6 separate regions of the Homo sapiens genome follow, and all the other regions are linked to region 4. Evidence: promoter capture Hi-C in 16 types of primary human blood cells and fetal thymus (Javierre and others, 2016). All regions are on one chromosome and are shown on one strand. The core of a region is centred on a gene start or on the middle of the fragment in contact, and the rest is flanking DNA. Distances in the headings are between cores, read along the strand shown.

The links. The method cuts DNA at HindIII sites, captures the fragments that hold promoters and counts their contacts. A CHiCAGO score of 5 or more calls a contact.
Region 1: a contact is called between the fragment with the promoter of GATAD2B here and the fragment with the promoter of ILF2 in region 4, in 11 of 17 cell types (M2 macrophages, M1 macrophages, M0 macrophages and 8 more). The highest score is 15.3, in M2 macrophages.
Region 2: a fragment that was not itself captured here is called in contact with the fragment with the promoter of ILF2 in region 4 in 1 of 17 cell types (M2 macrophages); the score reaches 5.0 in M2 macrophages.
Region 3: a contact is called between a fragment that was not itself captured here and the fragment with the promoter of ILF2 in region 4, in 4 of 17 cell types (M0 macrophages, M2 macrophages, M1 macrophages and 1 more). The highest score is 9.6, in M0 macrophages.
Region 5: a contact is called between a fragment that was not itself captured here and the fragment with the promoter of ILF2 in region 4, in 5 of 17 cell types (M2 macrophages, M1 macrophages, naive B cells and 2 more). The highest score is 9.1, in M2 macrophages.
Region 6: a fragment that was not itself captured here is called in contact with the fragment with the promoter of ILF2 in region 4 in 1 of 17 cell types (M2 macrophages); the score reaches 5.3 in M2 macrophages.

What each region holds. Positions count from the first base shown.
Region 1 is chr1:153,921,668-153,924,401 of GRCh38, reverse strand. GATAD2B (GATA zinc finger domain containing 2B) reads left to right here and starts at 1,430. Exons shown (of 11, transcript NM_020699.4): 1 at 1,430-1,669. It overlaps LOC101928059 (a long non-coding RNA gene), which reads right to left and starts at 1,029. Exons shown (of 4, transcript XR_922160.3): 1 at 440-1,029. RefSeq lists silencers at 355-649, 1,327-1,646 and an enhancer at 957-1,196. The HindIII fragment of the contact is 8,959 bases long and covers 1-2,734 here.
Region 2 is chr1:153,890,505-153,893,283 of GRCh38, reverse strand. The region is part of intron 1 of GATAD2B (GATA zinc finger domain containing 2B); the gene reads left to right. Among named protein-coding and RNA genes, the nearest start is that of GATAD2B, 31 kb to the left of the region's middle. The HindIII fragment of the contact is 4,322 bases long and covers 1-2,779 here.
Region 3 is chr1:153,810,562-153,813,483 of GRCh38, reverse strand. It overlaps GATAD2B (GATA zinc finger domain containing 2B), which reads left to right. Exons shown (of 11, transcript NM_020699.4): 8 at 32-234; 9 at 1,352-1,462; 10 at 1,636-1,753. Among named protein-coding and RNA genes, the nearest start is that of SLC27A3, 37 kb to the right of the region's middle. The HindIII fragment of the contact is 1,796 bases long and covers 453-2,248 here.
Region 4 is chr1:153,669,658-153,672,765 of GRCh38, reverse strand. ILF2 (interleukin enhancer binding factor 2) reads left to right here and starts at 1,773. Exons shown (of 14, transcript NM_004515.4): 1 at 1,773-1,848; 2 at 2,536-2,595; 3 at 2,888-2,930. The coding sequence starts at 1,844. TRX-CAT1-1 (tRNA-iMet (anticodon CAT) 1-1) reads right to left here and starts at 1,516; the gene lies at 1,445-1,516. RefSeq lists enhancers at 504-553, 564-643, 1,194-1,333 and a silencer at 1,374-1,753. The HindIII fragment of the contact is 12,664 bases long and covers 1-3,108 here.
Region 5 is chr1:153,850,716-153,853,521 of GRCh38, reverse strand. The region is part of intron 1 of GATAD2B (GATA zinc finger domain containing 2B); the gene reads left to right. It also overlaps the pseudogene LOC645965. Among named protein-coding and RNA genes, the nearest start is that of GATAD2B, 71 kb to the left of the region's middle. The HindIII fragment of the contact is 1,477 bases long and covers 799-2,275 here.
Region 6 is chr1:153,834,214-153,836,931 of GRCh38, reverse strand. The region is part of intron 1 of GATAD2B (GATA zinc finger domain containing 2B); the gene reads left to right. Among named protein-coding and RNA genes, the nearest start is that of SLC27A3, 60 kb to the right of the region's middle. The HindIII fragment of the contact is 5,159 bases long and covers 1-2,718 here.

The sequences.
Region 1 (2,734 bases), core at 181-2,680, 250 kb before region 4:
GAGGCAGGAGGATCACCTGAGGTCAGGAGTTCGAGACCAGCCTGGCCAACATGGCGAAACCCCGTCTCTACTAAAAACACAAAAATTAGCCGCGCGCCTGTAATCCCAGCTACTCGGGAGGCTGTTGAGGCAGGAGGATCGTTTGAACCTGGGAGGCGGAGGTTGCAGGAACTGAGATTGTACCACTGCACTCCAGCCTGGGAGACACAGTGAGAAAACAACAATAACAAAATGCCTGTGGAACCAGTTGTTTCTGGGTTTAAACCACTGCTTAGTCACTAACTAGCGGTCTGACCTTTGGCAAGTTACTTAACCTCTCTGAGCCTTAGTTTCCTCATCTACTTGGGTTCAAATTTCAGCTCTACCACTTAACGTGTAACTGGACAAATTTTTTGATCCTAATTTTCCTCATTTGTAAAGTAGGGATAACAGTACCTACCTCACAGTCATGAGGAATAAATACTTCATGTAAAGTTCTTAGCACAGAGCCTGACACAGTCTCTTTCCAAAAACGTTAACTACTATCATAACCTTAACACCCGGACTCTGTTACTTGGTCCCTATCCTCAAGGTGCTCCAGAAACGCTCGCTGAGTTTAGGCGGGCCTAACTGCTCCGTGGAAGCAGGGAGGCCAGCAAAAGGAGCTGGCCCTTGAGTTAATTAGGTGGAATCGGGCGGGGTGGGAGGCTGTTTCCTCGCTGAGAACCTAACCAGACCAGGAGTTCCCAAGAGAAGGAGCTGCGAGGGCTCTGCACACCGTAATTCCTCAGCAACTTGGCTAGCTGCTTTTTTTTTTTTCCTGCTGTCGTGGTTTAGTCACGACAGGACCAAGCGGAGGTACGATGAACACCAGGAAGCTCAAAGCCTTTGGCAGACGGAGACAGGCCACACCCCAAAAAGACGGCAAGGCTCAAGCGCCTAAAGCTAGTTCTATCGTGAAATTTCCTAGAGTCTGTCGCGACGAAACACCGCCCACCGCAGACCCCATCGCCGTTCGCCAGTCTCCATCTTTAGAATTGAAAGAATGAGAGATGGCCAAAGGGGAATCCCGGTTTGGAGAGACTGGGGTACGGCGGCTGCCTGGGGACCAAAACGTCTCTAAGGTAAAGTTGCAGCCTGAAGCGATTTTTTGACCCCCGACACTTAATGGGCTGTCGAAGACCCGGATGTGTCTGGGACTGGCAGAGGTACCCATTAACGCGCCCCCGCTAGACCATCCCCCCTCCTCCGTTTATGATTGGGTTTTAAGCACGCCAATCATCACTTCTCCGGCCACTCATTCTTCAAGGGTGGGGTGAAGTCCCGGCATCTAGTCTTCTACTGGCATGGCCGAGAAGATGAGGGCGGGGTGGCCGGCTTAGGTCGCCCAATGGGCGTCGTGGCGTGTGGGTAAGGCGGAGCCGAGGCGCTTGGCAGCTGCCCAATCAGCGTCCTTGTTTGTGTGGTGCCGCCGCCGCCGGTGCAGCCGTCGCCGCCGCCGCTGCCCCCGTCTGTACCGCAGTGTCTGCTCCGCCCGCCCGCCCCGGTCCGGCCCGCCCCCCTCCCCTACCCCCGTCCCTAGTCCCGTCAGCAGGGTCTGGATCCCCTGTGCCGTCGCCTCTTCCTTTTTCGACGCCTCCGCCGCCGCCTGAGGAGGCGAGCTAGCCGGGAGTTACACCGCCACCGCCAGGTGAGGAGCTTTGGCCTAGGCCAGCCTGGCCGCCCGCCCGCCCGGGGGCGGTGAGGAGCGAGGAAGGGAAGGAGGCTGGGAGGAGGCAGTGGTGGCGGAGGTGGGGGAAGGGAAAGGTGGAGGGGCGGGGGGAGGGGAAGCGCCCGCGAGCCGACGCCCGCCCGCGCGCCCCCGCCTTGCGTCCCCCTCCCCCCACCCCGGCACGGCGCGCCCCCGCCTCGCGCTCCTTCTTCACCTCATCCTCTCCCCCCTTGGCGCGCGCGACCCGGTCTTTCACTTCGGCCTCGCGCGCCCCCAGCTCGTGTCCCTTCATTTCGTCTCCTTGTACTCTTTCTCCCCTCCCTCACGCCCCGTTTCCCCCGCCATCCCCGCTTTCACTCCCTGCCTCATGCCCGCCATGCTCCCCTCCTTTCCTCTCTAGCGCGCCCCCCCCTTTTTTTTTTTAACTCTCTCCACCCCCAGTGGTGCCCTCAGGGTGCGGGGGCCGCTCCCTGCTCAGTCTTGTGTTTGCGGGCGGATGGGACGAATGGGGAATCTAAGGGTAAAGGAAGCACCAGATAATTATCTTTATTTAGGGAAAGGGATCAGGAGCGCATAACCTTACCCCTTTATTTCGTCGTCCACCGTTCGCTCGCCCTCCCGTAGGGGAAGAGAATTGTCTCAGGCTATGTGGGCACTTAGCTTCTACAGCGACTGGGCTTGTGGGACACACTGGATCTGTCTTCCAGTTCAGTTCCTGAGGGTCGGTGGAACTTACCCTTCCCTAACCACACCGGGACTTAGAGTACTTTTGGCCTCCCTGCTCTCAATTACATTGAGGAGCGAGCCACTCATGCGAGTGCAGAGGTTCAGGTGCCATTCGCGCGCCCGGTACAGCTTTCCCGTTTCATAAAGGTATGGTAGCCTCTTTGGATTCTTCCCCAGCATCAACTTCCAAACACAAGATGTTAGCTCATAGGGCTGGCAGTGAGGTGGAGATGGAGGCTTGGTGGTGGGTGGCATGTGGATGCTAACTGAGCTAGCTAGCAACCTTTTCTCTGTTGTCCCCTGGAAAATCAGGTAGCC
Region 2 (2,779 bases), core at 114-2,613, 220 kb before region 4:
AATGATAAGCCTGCCTACTATACCAAATCCTCGTAACAACAGTCAGAATTTTGACAAATCTTTATGTCACTGAATTGAAGAAAAGTGTCACTGTTTTTCCTGTAGGTTCCATGTGCTCATCAATGCTAATGGGCAAATCTCAGCTAATAGACTGCTAGAAGTTTCCTCTAGGTAAAATCCAGACCAGACAAGTTTTTCCTCTTGTACTGTGTTTAGGTACAGCCTCACAGAACTTGATCCACTCCTCTGCATGAATATTTTCTTCCCTCATTTCAATAAAGAAGATTTCTTGGCCGGGCGCAGTGGCTCACACCTATAATCCCAGCACTTTGGGAGGCCGAGGCGGGTGGATCACGAGGTCAGGAGTTCAAGATCAGCTTGGCCAACATTGTGAAACCCCGTCTCTACTAAAAATACAAAAATTAGCCAGGCGTGGTGGCACGTGCCTGTAGTCCCAGCTACTTGGGAGGCGGAGGTAGGATAATTGCCCGAACCCGGGAGGCAGAGGTTGCAATAAGCCAAGATGGCACAACTGCACTCCAGCCTGGGTGACACAGGGAGACTGTCTCAAAAAAAAAAAAAAAAAAAAAAGGTTTCTTACAAGTCTACTGGATACTGTCTAATGTTGGGCCCATTTTGATGACAAAATTATTTTATAATATTGTTGGACAGAAGCGATGAATGTCCAGAATTTCACATTGGCATATCTTATCCATCAATTCTGATTTTAAACTCCTTGACCATTTACTAGTCAATTGTTATGAGCAGCTATGTATTCATGTATCCCTCTACAGTCTAGAGAGTTCTAGGTGAGTGATGATGCTTTGACCCTGAAAGACCCCTTTACTTATCAGTTTATTTATTTTTCCCTTGGATTCAATAGGAGGGAATACTTATTAGTATGTTTAATATTTGGTCAGCTAGATCTTTTTTCCTAGATATCTGATCTTTAGCCTTTAGTGTGTCTTACCTTAACTAGTGGTAGTGTTCTATATACTATAATAGTCTTGTTACCTGTTTTACTCTTGAGTTTTGTGAGTGACTTATGCTGCTTCTAGCTAGGCCTGGGGATTCTGTCCCTAATTGTCTTGTCTTTTCTTTTTTTTTTTTTTTTTTTTTTGAGACGGAGTCTCACTCTGTTGCCAGGCTAGAGTGCAGTGAAATGATCTCGGCTCACTGCAACCTCCGCCTCCTGGGTTTAAGCAATTCTCCTGCCTCAGCCTCCCGAGTAGCTGGGACTACAGGCGTCTGCCACCGCCATGCCTGGCTAATTTTTGTGTTTTTAGTAGATACGGGGCTTCACCATGTTGGCCAGGATGGTCTCGATTTCTTGACCTCATGATCCGCCCGCCTCAGCCTCCCAAAGTGCTAGGATTACAGGCATGAGCCACTGCACCCGGCCATAAACTCTGTCCCTAATTTTCATTGTGCTTATGTCTTTTAGTAATTATGTTAAATCTAGCCATTCCTTTTATTTTTAAATTTTAGTCAGTTTTTGGATAGGTGATATATGCACATGGTACAGAATTTACAATTGGAAAAAGTTTACAGTAAAAAAGGACATCTCTTTCTTTGGAGACAGAACTTAATCTACTTCTTTTCCCTCCCCTCCCCCCCCCCCATACTTACCTCCTCTTACCCTTCCCCTCTCCTTTTTCCTTCCCTTTGCCTCTCCCCCCCACCTCTTTTTTTTTTTTTTTTTTTTTTTTAAACGAGACAGAGTTTCACTTTTGTTGCCCAGGCTGGAGTGCAGTGGCACGATCTCAGCTCACTACAAACTCTGCCTCCTGGGCTCAAGCAGTTCTCCTGCCTCAACCTCCCAAGTAGCTGGGATTTACAGGTGCCCGCCACCACACCTAGCTAATTTTTTATATTTTGAGTAGGGATGGGGTTTCACCATGCTGGCCAGGCTGGTCTTGAACTGCTGACCTCAAGTGACCCACCCACCTTGGCCTCCCAAAATGCTGGGATTACTGGCATGAACCACCACTCCCGGCTGCCTTCCCTTTTTTCTTCCCTTTCCTTTTTTTTTCACCTCTTTCTTTCCTTTCCCTTCCCTTTTTCCTTTCCTTTCTTTTCCTTTTTTATTTGTGTGTTTCTTTGAGGCGGAATCTCGCTGTCGCCCAGGCTGGAGTGCAATGGTGCGATCTCAGCTCACTGCAAACTCCGCCTCCCAGGTTCAAGCAGTTCTCCTTCCTCAGCCTCCTGAGTAGTTGGGATTACAGGTGCCCACCACCACACCTGGCTAATTTTTGTATTTTTAGTAGAGACGGGGTTTTGCCATGTTGGTCAGGCTGGTCTTGAACTCCTGACCTCAGGTGATCCTCCCACCTCGGCCTCCCAAAGCGCTGGGATTATAGGTGTGAGCCACCGCACCTGTCGGCACATTTTATTAAAGAAAAACTTTGCATGGTTTACTTTTTGCCAGTCTGTTCTGGCATGCGTTTAATGATAGCAGAATCACCTGGGTTAACGATAGCCAGTGTACAAACTCTGTAGTATTTTCTACATGCCTTACAGTTATTGTCACTGTAATGATGGATGCCAGTTTTGGCCAACATGGTGTTTAGTACTCTGTTTTGGATTTCCTTAAAGATGGGCAGTTGGTGAGGATGACCAATTTCACTTTAAATAAGTTGGAGCCTAGAGTTGATCAACTCCAGCCGCTTTTTCATCCTCTGCGGCCACCAGCTTTCTGTCTTAGGTTCAGGATGGCCCCCAACCAAGAGCAGCTGCCAGGCTGGCTGGGAAGCAAGAAAGCCTGTTTCTTGTTCTGTCG
Region 3 (2,922 bases), core at 101-2,600, 140 kb before region 4:
AAAGCCACTGACTATTTTTGTTGGTATCTAGGCAAAAGCTGTGCCTCACTTCTGCGGGTTGAACCCTTTGTATGTGCCCAGTGCCGCACAGATTTCACCCCTCACTGGAAGCAAGAAAAGAATGGTAAGATTCTATGTGAGCAGTGTATGACCTCCAACCAGAAAAAGGCTCTAAAAGCTGAACACACCAACCGGCTGAAAAATGCATTTGTGAAAGCCCTACAGCAGGAACAGGTAAGAATTCTGACTGCTCACTGGCCACCTGTCCCAGTTTGTTTTTTCCAAAGGGTCGCGCCTTCTAGTTTGCAGGAGTGGTTCATGTGATCCCTACAGGTCCACAGGTTCCCTTTTTGTCTCCTTATCATTGTGTCCTATTTCCATTTGAGCGAGTATTCTGATTAAGAACATGGTAAAATATAATGGCTGAGGTTAACAGAAAGGGACAGAAAGCTTGGGACTCTTGGCTTTTCCATAGCACTCTATTCTCATCTTCATTTTTTCCTAAAACAAATAATAGATTTTGGTGGGAGGAATTTATATTTGTGCTATAAATCTCTTTGAAACAGTTATTTGCAGTGCGTGTTTGATAAGAAATGACGAAAGAAAGAGTGAATTATGAAGTAGCCCAGTGAAGAGTAGTGGTTCTAGAGTATGTGAACATCTCATGTAGCAGTTATAGGATGAGAATATCTTAGAGAAGGAAAAATGTGTTGGGAAACTCAGATCCTTTTCTTCCTATTTCCCACTCCACCCATCAGAGTCCCTTGTTTGAGTAGCATCATGGACTTTTTGGAAGATCGGGTAGGCAGGAGTCAAAAATAAAACCCCATTTATGCTCTAGGACTGGTGGTAAAAAATAAATAAATAAAAATTTTTAAAAAGAGAAAAGAAAAAGTGATAAAATAAAACCCCAGTAATTCATCAGCCTTAATTATATCAGTTGGTTCATCACCTCCAGCCAACTTCTTAGAGCCAGCTTTCCTGGAGAAAGAGAGGAGGATCCCTTGATCATTGAAGCAAGTTAGCTGCTTATACCCAGAAATCTCAGTGTACCACCCCCACCAAACTCTTTTGCCTTTTCCATATTCCACCAACTAGCCAACAACATTAGAGGTAAGAACACCTCCAGGTTTTCTGGTTAGGAAATTGGGTGGGCCAGGTGCAGTGATTCATGCCTGTAATCCCAGCACTTTGGGGAGGCTAAGGTGAGAGGATTGCTTGAGCCCAGGAGTGCCAGACCAGCCTGGGCAACAAAGTCAGATTGTGTCTCTGTTTAAAAAAAAAAAAAAAAAAGGAAATTGGGTATTGGGTGCTGTCCTGCTCAATCACCTGATGTGATGACTCCCAACAGGAAATTGAACAGCGATTACAGCAGCAGGCAGCCCTCTCCCCCACTACGGCTCCAGCTGTGTCCAGTGTCAGTAAACAAGAGACCATCATGAGACATCATACGCTTCGGCAGGTAAGGAACTTTTTGCCTGATCCTGATTTCTTTAGAAGATTTATCAGCCATTTATCACAATTTGTCCTTTCTATTGTGGGAAATCATAGTCTTCTTCTGTACTCCCTTATCTTTGCCCCCGCTTAACATTCTATCATATCAAAGTTGTATCCACTGTCTCCTCATCATTGCAGGCTCCACAGCCCCAGAGCAGCCTCCAGCGTGGCATACCCACATCTGCCCGCTCCATGCTTTCAAACTTTGCACAGGCACCCCAGTTGTCTGTGCCAGGTGGCCTCCTTGGTATGCCAGGTAAGAAGGATTAATCTGAAAATGTTTCTCATGGGTCAGCTGTTAGTTAGTATACAGTTCTGTAGCAGCCCCTTTAAGGGAATTGTTCCTTTACTTTCTGTTCTTTCTTTAGGGCATACACTCTCACTCTTCTGTTACTCAGCAAATGTTTGCTAAATTCATATTAAGTGCCACCCACAATGCACTAGGGTTTTGGTGGTGAAAATGACCCAGATCCTACCATTATCAATTTAACTTTTAATATCCCTTCAGTAGACATGTGGTTATTGATCTCTTTTGGCCGGGACAGCAGGGTTAACTGTTCTGTTTGAATGATCCAGGGATGCTTCTGCACAATCTGCAGCCTCAAAATCAAAGCTGATTTAATGATTCTATCTCTCTGTCTTATTCATCTTCCTCTCACCACTGTTTCACTTGTCTCTCCCATACCATCAGAAGCATGTTCATTATTCTTGGTAGGACCGAAATTTCAGGAAGTCCCCTTTTCCTAAAGCTTAGGAATATGAGTGGGGATTGAAATAAAGTTGCTGTGCAGGGCGCGGTGGCTCACACCTGTAATCCCAGCACTTTGAGAGGCCGAGGCAGGCGAATCACTTGAGATCAGGAGTTCAAGACCAGGCTGACCAACATGGTGAAACCCTGTCTCTACTAAAAATACAAAAAATTGGCTGGGCGTGGTGGCTCATGCCTATAATCCCAGCACTTTGGGAGGCCAAAGCGAGTGGATTACCTGAGGTCAGGAGTTCAAGACCACCCTGGCCAACATGATGAAACCCCATCTCTACTGAAAATACAAAAAATTAGCCCGGCGTGGTGGCTGGTGCCTGTAATCCCAGCTACTCGGGAGGCTGAGGCAGGAGAATCGCTTGAACTTGGGAGGTGGGGCTTGCAGTGAGCTGAGATTGTGCCACTGCACCTCCAGCCTGGGCAACGAGCGAAATTCTGTCTCAGATAAATAAGCAAACAAAATTAATTGGCTGGGTGCAGTGGGTCATGCCTGTAATCCCAGCACTTTGGGAGGCTGAGGCCGTTGGATCATTTGAGGTCAGGAGTTCAAGACTAGCCTGGCCAACATGGTGAAACCCCATCTCTACTAAAAATACAAAAAATAGCCGGGCAGTAGTGGCACGCGCCTATAATTCCAGCTACTCTGGAGGCTGAGGCAGGAG
Region 4 (3,108 bases), core at 524-3,023:
CATCCTCGCTAACACCGCGAAACCCCGTCTCTACTAAAAATACAAAAAAAAAAAAATTAGCTGGGCGTGGTGGCGGGCGCCTGTAGTCCCAGCTACTCGGGAGGCTGAGGCAGGAGAATCGCTTGAACCGGGGAGGCGGAGGTTGCAGTGAGCTGAAATAGCGCCACTGCACTGCAGCCTGGGAGACTCCATCTCAAAAAAAAAAATAAAATTAGCTCGGAGTGGTGTGGCCTGTGCCTTTGAGTAGTCCCAACTACTAGGGAGGCCGAAATGGGAGAGTCTCTTGAGGCCAGGAGGTTGAGGCTGCAGTGAGCTATGATGGTGCACCACTGCACTCCAGCCTGGGCAACAGAGTGAGACCCTGTGTCTAAATAAAATGAAATAATAGAAGAGAGGGTAAGAGACAAAGAGATTACTGGGGGAAAAGTCTAACCCGTCTTTATTTGGAGTTCAGGAACGAGGGAAATAATAGGTAAAACTAATACTTGAAGAGATAATAGCTGATAAATTTAATAAATGGACGACAAACCTGAAGCCATTGATTCAAGAAGCTCAACAAACCTCAAGTAAGATTTTTTTTTTTTTAAACGGAGTCTCCCTCTATCGCCCAGGCTGGGGTGCAGTGGCGCCATCTCAGCTCACTGCAACCTCCGCCTCCCGGATTCAAGAGATTCTCCTGCCTCAGCCTCCTGAGTAACTGGAATTACAGGCGCCCGCCAGCACGCCGGCTAATTTTTGTATTTTTAGTAGAGACGGAGTTTCACCATGTTGGCCAGGCTGATCTCGAACTCCTGACCTCGGGTGATCCACCCGTCTCGGCCTCCCACAGTGCTGGGTGGCCACAAGCCACCGCACTCGGTCCGCTTTTTGTTTGCTTGTTTTTTAAAAATTAATAATATTTATTTTAATCTGGATGGTGGTTACGTGGCCAGAATACGTTTAGACTTAAGATGTTTACGTTCTGCTGTAGTAAATTAAATATCGAAAAAGTACTTATGGAAGGGAGGTAGGTGAGGGATAAAAGTCTACAAGTTGGGTTCAGTGTATACTGCTCGGGTGATGAGTGCACCAAAATCTCACAAATCACCACTAAAGAATTTATGTAACCAAGCTGGGCGCTGTGGCTCACGCCGGTAATCCCAGCACTTTCGGAAGCTGAGGCGGGTGGATCACCTGTTTCCATGGACATGGAAAACCATGTTTTCCACACTAATTCAATCAATATACTCCTCTCCTATCTAAAACCTGTTTCTCCTGCTTCGAGTTTGTAGACGTGCAGTGTTCATAGTTGCCTAAACTCCCTTTTCCCCATCAACTTCAACTGCTAGTGGCAAAAATAGCTGATATTGGTTGCATTTTTGAGGTAGGAAAATTGGCAAGATATTTTCCTTCACTAAAGAAACGTAGATTACGTATGCCGTACAGGGCAATGAAAAAACTCCGATAGCAGAGGATGGTTTCGATCCATCGACCTCTGGGTTATGGGCCCAGCACGCTTCCGCTGCGCCACTCTGCTATCTAGAACTAAAATTTCTCATGATTGTTATAGAACACTACGTAGTCGTTGTCCTGACTTCTTTAGTGCCACCTAATGTCTGATCAAAAATTCGTCATTACTATAGAACCAGTTCTTATTGGCTAGTTCCTGACACAGTAGGCGTTTTTTATTGGTTCATAAGCCCGGTTTGACAAAGTAAGCCAATAGGCATAAGCGATGGGGTAAGGCGGGAGCCAATCGCACCGGGTTTTATTGGGACACGCCGGCAAGACGCCTCTTCAGTTGTCTGCTACTCAGAGGAAGGGGCGGTTGGTGCGGCCTCCATTGTTCGTGTTTTAAGGCGCCATGAGGTAAGTGGGTCGAAGCGGTCGAAAGGTTTCAGGTATTCGACGGAAAACTTTGTGAACGTGGGCCGAAAGAAGTCGGAGTATCAGAAAGGGCCATGTATCCGGGGGCTGGCCAAAAACCTGAGAACTCCTGGTCTAGGATAGTGGGAGAGATGGAGGCCGGTAGAGGCGGGGAAACTTGGGCCCGGGATGGGGTTCGGGCCCAGGAGTGGGGAGGGGGGTTCGACACCTTTGTCTCTGAAGGGTTGCGATGAGGGGGTGTCCTCAAGCCCCTGGAGGAGCTCCCCACCTTTCCCCCGCCCCCGTCATCCGGGCTGAGAATGCTGGAGCGAGCCGCATTCATCCTCAGTGCGAAGGCCTTGACATTAGGACACGCCCGATAAATGTGTACCTTAGTGAAGAAATGAGCAATCTTTAGCCTCCGAAGTATTAGGATTCGTGTGGCCCAGGATTATGGGTTATTAAGTGTAGGGCTCACTGAGCCCCATCATTACTTGATGGGGGTTGGATTAACTTAGAGGAGGTTATGGGGGTGTAACTGGGCACCATTTGGAATGGGGACAAGTGTAAGTGTGAGTGGGGTCTCTTGCCTACCGTTGGGAGGTTCCGAGGGATGAAAGTAGCCAACCTAAGATGATATGGCCGGTGGGTATTCCTTCAATGAGGTCAAAATAAAATCTGCATTTCTAGGGGTGACAGAGGCCGTGGTCGTGGTGGGCGCTTTGGTTCCAGAGGAGGCCCAGGAGGAGGGTGAGTACCAGCTTTTAGCATCTCTGCACTTGGTTGTTAGTTTCTGCTTGTCATCTAAATAGGAGTTTTAGAGTAGACTAATGTCACTTGGTTTTGCGAGAGCCAACTGTGGTCTTTTCCTGCACTCCTGTTAAATGAATTTGGCCCCACTATGCTAAGAATGATTCTTTCCCTCCCCGGAGACTTTGTCACTCATTCTGAGGACTGACATGTTTTCAAAATTGTTGGCGTGTTATTTACATCTCGCTTGATTCCTACCTAGGGAATAATTTGGCTGTTTTTCATGTTTTAGGTTCAGGCCCTTTGTACCACATATCCCATTTGACTTCTATTTGGTGAGTACCTTGGGTTAATGATACACATTTTCTGGTCACTGTTGAAATGGAGCCCAGTATCTCCCAGTTAATGAAGTTAGATGGTGGTTGAAGAGGGCAGACACAGTGCCTCACGCCTGTAATCTCAGCACTTTGGGAGGCCGAGGCAGATGGATTACCTGAAGGTCAGGAGTTTGAG
Region 5 (2,806 bases), core at 288-2,787, 180 kb before region 4:
ATCTCCAACATATGTAAGGAACTCATACAACTCAGTAGCAAAAAATATATGTATATTAAAAAATAGGCGCTTCACTGCCGTCCGTTGATTTATTTCTCCAGGAAGAAAAATGGCATCTGTTGCAGTTGATCCACAACTGAGTGTGATGACTCGGGTGGTCAACCTGCCCTTGATGAGCTCCACATATGACCCCATGTCCTCAGCCCATGTCAGTACAAAGGACCAGTGTCCTACTTGAAGTCTGTGTGTGAGATGGCAGGGAAGGGTGTGAAGACCATCACCTCGGTGGCCATGACCAGTGTGCTCTGCCCATCATCCAGAAGCTAGAGCTGCAAATTGCAGTTGCCAATATCCGTGTCTGTAAGGGGCTAGACAGGATTGAGGAGAGACTGCCTATTCTGAATCAGCCATCAACTCAGGTTGTTGCCAATGCCAAAGGTGCTGTGACTGGGGCAAAAGATGCTGTGACGACTACTGTGACTGGGGCCAAGGATTCATCACAGGGTTGATGGACAAGACCAAAGGGGTAGTGACTGGCACTGTGGAGAAGACCCAAGTCTGTGTCAGTGGCAGCATTAACACAAGCTTAGGAAGTCAGATAATGCAGCTCATGAGCAGTGGCTTGGAACATGCGCTCACCAAATCAGAGCTCTTGGTAGGACAGTACCTCCCTCTCACTGGGGAAGAACTAGAAAAAGAAGCAAAAAAAGTTGAAGGATATGATATGGTTCAGAAGCCAAGTTGTTATGTTAGACTGGGATCCCTGTCTACCAAGCTTCACTCCCTGTCTACCAAGCTTCACTTCGTATGAGCAGGCTCTCAGCAGGGTTAAAGAAGCTAAGCAAAAAAGCCAAGAGACCATTTCTCAGCTCCGTTCTTCTGTTCACTTGATTGAATTTGCCAGGAAGAGTGTGCATAGTGCCAATCAGAAAATTCAGGATGCTCAGGATAAGCTCTAGCTCTCATGGGTGGAGTGGAAAAGGAATATTGGATACGATGATACTGATGAGTCCCACTGTGCAGAGCACATCGAGTCACGTACTCTTGCTATTGCCTGCAACCTGACTTAGCAGCTCCAGACCACATGCCACGGCCTTCTGTCCAACATCCATGATGACCACAGAACATCCAAGGTCAGGCCAAGCATATGAGGGTGATGGCAGGCGACATCTACTCAGTGTTCTGCAATGCTGCCTCCTTTGAGGAAGTGTCTGACAGCCTCCACTTCTAGCAAGGGGCAGCTGCAGAAAATGAAGGAATCTTTAGATGACTTGATGGATTTCTTGTTAACAACATGCCCCTCAACTGGCTGGTAGGTCCCTTTCACCCTCAACTGACTGAGTCTCAGAATGCTTAGGACCAAAGTGCAGAGATGGACAAGAGCAGCCAGGAGGCCCAGCGATCTGAGCACAAAACTCATTAAACTTGCCCCTGTCACCAGTGAATGATGCGGCCAGCCAGTTAACACCTTTCGTTATGTTGAAATTAACCCTGCTAGGCAACCCTAAATTGGGAAGCAAGTAGCTAGTAAAAAGGCCCTCAATTATAGTTATTTCCAGCTGGATTAAGAGCTTTAAAGTTTCTGGCTTTAGCAGATGATTTCTGTTCACCTGGTAAGAAAAGAATGCTAGGCTTGTTAGAGCCTAGCCAGAACTCACAAAAAATTCAAGTGCACTTATGTTCTCATTCTGTGGCCATTGTGTTACCCTCTGTTACTGTTTGTGTTGAATAAAAACATCTTCATGCGGGCTGGGGTAGAAACTGGTGTCTGCTCTGGTATGATCTGAGCAGGCCTCTTTACTGATTTATCTCATGATGATTGCTTGTACAACTTGATTTTAGTTTTTTATTTCTCAAATAGGAATACTACCTTTGAATTCAATATAATTCACTGTAAGATTAAAAAAAAAATGGACAAAGGACCTGAATAGACATTCTCCAAAGAAGACATAAAAGTGGCCAAGTATATGAAAAATTGCTCAACATTGCTAATCATCAGAGAAGTACACATCAAAACCACAATGAAATATCATCACTTCACACCTGTCAATGTCAAGATGGCTATTTTTTTTAAGTGGCAAGGGAGTGAAGAAATTGGAACCCTTGCACACTGTTGGTGGGAATGCAAAATGGTACAAGCGGCCACTATGGAAAACAGTATGGAGGTTCCTTGACATATTAAATATAGAACTACCAGATGGTCTAGCAATCATGCTTCTAGATATTTATCCAAAATAAAATCAGGATCCCAAAGAGTGACAACATGGATGAAGCTTGAGGACATTATGCTAAGGGAAATAATACAGTCACAGAAAGATAAATAACTATGTGAGTCTACTTATGTGAGGTATCTAGTCAGATTCATAGGTTGACAGAGTCAAATGGTGGTTGCCAAAGGCTGAGGGGGAGGAGAAATTGGGGAGTTGCTAAACAATGTATGTAAAATTAATGTCAAACGGGAAAAAGCTCTAGAGATCTGCCATACAACACTGTACCTATAGTCAACATTAATGTATTGTACACTTGAAAATTTGTTAAGAGGGTAGATCTTGTGTTAAGTGTTTTTACCACAATAAAACAAAAAAAAACTTTTTTTTTTTTGAGGTGGAGTCTTGCTCTGTCACCCAGGCTGTAGTGTAGTGGCGCGTTCCCGGCTCACTGCAACCTCCGCCTCCTAGGTTCAAGCGATTCTCCTGCCGCAGCCTCCTGAGTAGCTGAGATTATAGGCGCACACCACCACGCCTGGCTAATTTTTGTTTATTTAGTAGAGACGAAGTTTCACTATGTTGGCCAGGCTGGTCTCAAA
Region 6 (2,718 bases), core at 164-2,663, 160 kb before region 4:
ACCTCTGATGGGTCAGTTTCTTTCTTGAATCATTAATGTATAGTAAGGGGAAATTATTTGACTTACTTTCAGCTGTTTGTATAATTGTCAATTCAAGGAGCCAAGGTAATGATGGCACCCCAAACTCTAGCTCTAGGTTATTGAATTTTGTTGTTTTGTCATATACTATCAGTGCACGTGAATATATCTCAAAACTTAGAATACTGTAGTATATCAACTTAAATGTGTATATCTTGCTATGTGTACTTAAGAGACAGGGTCTTGCTCTGTCACCCAGGCTGGAGTAGAGTGGCGCAATCATAGCTCACTGCAGCCTCAAACTCCTGGGCTCAAATGATCTTCCCACTTCAGTCACCATGCCTTTTTTTTTTAACTTTTTTAGGCTGGGTGCAGTGGCTCACGCCTGTAATCCCAGCACTTTGGGAGGCCAAGGTGGGCGGATCACTTGAGGTCAGGAGTTCAAGACTAGCCTGGCCAACATGGAGAAACCTCGTCTCTACTAAAAATACAAAAATTAGCCGAGTATGGTGGCGAACACCTGTAATCTCAGCTACTTGGAAGGCTGAGGCATGAGAATCACTTGAACCTGGGAGGCTTGCAGTGAGCCGAGGCTGTGCCACTGCACTCCAGCCTGGGTGACAGACTGTCTAAAAAAAAAAAAAAAAAAACAAATTTTTTTTTAGAGATGAGTCTCCCAGGATGGTCTCAAACTCTCAGCCTCCAATGATCCTCTTGTGTCACTGGGATTACACACACAAGCCACTGCCTTACTGTGTACTTTTCTAAAGTATAGACATACCTCAGAGATTTTGTATGTTCCATTCCAGACCACCACAATAAAGCAAATATTGCAATAAAGCAAGTCACACAAATTTTTTGGTTTCCCAGTGTATATAAAAGTTATGTTTAGGCCAGACGCAGTGGCTCACGCCTGTAATCCAAGCACTCTGGAAGGCTGAGGCGGGAGGATTGCTTGAAGTCAGGAGTTTGAGACCAGCCTGGTCAACATGGTGAAACCTTGTCTCTACTAAAAATACAAAAAGTAGCTGGGCATGGTGGTACGCGCCTGTAATCCCAGCTACTCAGGAGGCTGAGGCAGTAGAATCGCTTGAACTCAGGAGGCAGAGGTTGTAATGAACCGAGATCACGCCACTCCACTCCAGCCTGGACGACAGAGCAAGAGTCTGTCTCAAAAAAATAATAATAATAATAAAATAAAAGTTATGTTTACATTATGCTGTAGTCTATTAAGTGCAATAGGATTATGTCTAAGAAAACAATGAATACATCTTAAATAAAAAACACTTTCTTGCTAAAAAGTACTAACAATCATCTGAGCCTTCAGCAAGTCATTATCTTTTAGCTGGTAGAGTGTCTTGCCTCCATGTGGATGACTGCTCACCCATTAGTGTGGTGGTTGCTGAAGGTTGGGGTAACCTGGCAATTTTTTTTTTTTTTTGAGATTACAGGCATGAGCCACTGCGCCTGCCCAACCTGGCAGTTTCTTAAAATAAGATGATGAAGTTTGCCACATGGATTGACTCTCCTTTCATGAAAGATTTTCATATAGCATGCGGTACTGTTTAATACCATTTTATCCACAGTAGAACTGCTTTCAACATTGGTGTCATTTCTTTCAAACCCTGCTGCTTTGTCAACTCAAGTTTATGGAATATTCTAAATCTTCTGGTGTCATTTCAACAGTGTTCACAGCATCTTACCAGGAGTAGATTCCATCTCAAGAAACCACTTTCTTTGCTCATCCATAAGAAGCAACTCCTTATCCATTCAAATTTTTGTTTTTTGTTTGTTTTTTAAAGAGACTCAGTTGTGGTCTGTCACCCAAGCTGGAGTGCAGTGGCATGATCGTAGCTCATTGTAGCCTCAAACTCCTGGGCTCATGCGATCCCCTCACCTCACTCTCCTGAGTGAGGTGCATGCCACCGTGCCCAACTAATTTTTTTTTTTATTTTCTGTAGAGATAGGGTCTCACTTTGTTGTCCAGGTTGGTCTCGAACTCCTGGGCTCAAGTGATCCTCCTGTCTCAGCCTCCCAAAGTGCTGGGATTACAGTGCTGGGATCCCAGCTGTGCCTTGCCCAGGCTCCCTTCTAATTGTAGTTTTCTTGCTGTTTCTACCACTTTTGCAGTCATTTCCTCCATTGAAACCTTGAACCTGTCAAAGGTCATGTATGAAAGTTATAATCAACTTCTTTCAAATTCCTGTTAGTGTTGATAGTTTTAGGCCGGGCGTGGTGGCTCATGCCTGTAATCCCAGCAATTTGGGAAGCCGAGGCAGGCAGATCACCTGAGGTCGGGAGTGCGAGACCAGCCTGACCAACATGGAGAAACCCTTTCTCTACTAAAAATACAAAATTAGCTGGGCCTGGGGTGGCACATGCCTGTAATCCCAGCTACTCGGGAGACTGAGGCAGGAGAATTGCTTGAACCTGGAAGGTGGAGGTGAGCTGAGATCGCACCATTGCACTCCAGCCTGGGCAACAAGAGCAAAACTCCGTCTTAAAAAAAAGAAAAAGAAAAGAAAAATGTTAATAGTTTTACTTCCTCCTGCAATGGTAAATAATTTCCAGGAGGTTTTTTAAATTTTTATTTTTATAGAGACAGGGTCTTGGCTGGGCGTGGTGGTCATGCCTGTAATCCCAGCACTTTGGGAGGCTGAGGTGGGCGGATCACGAGGTCAGGAGTTCGAGACCATCCTG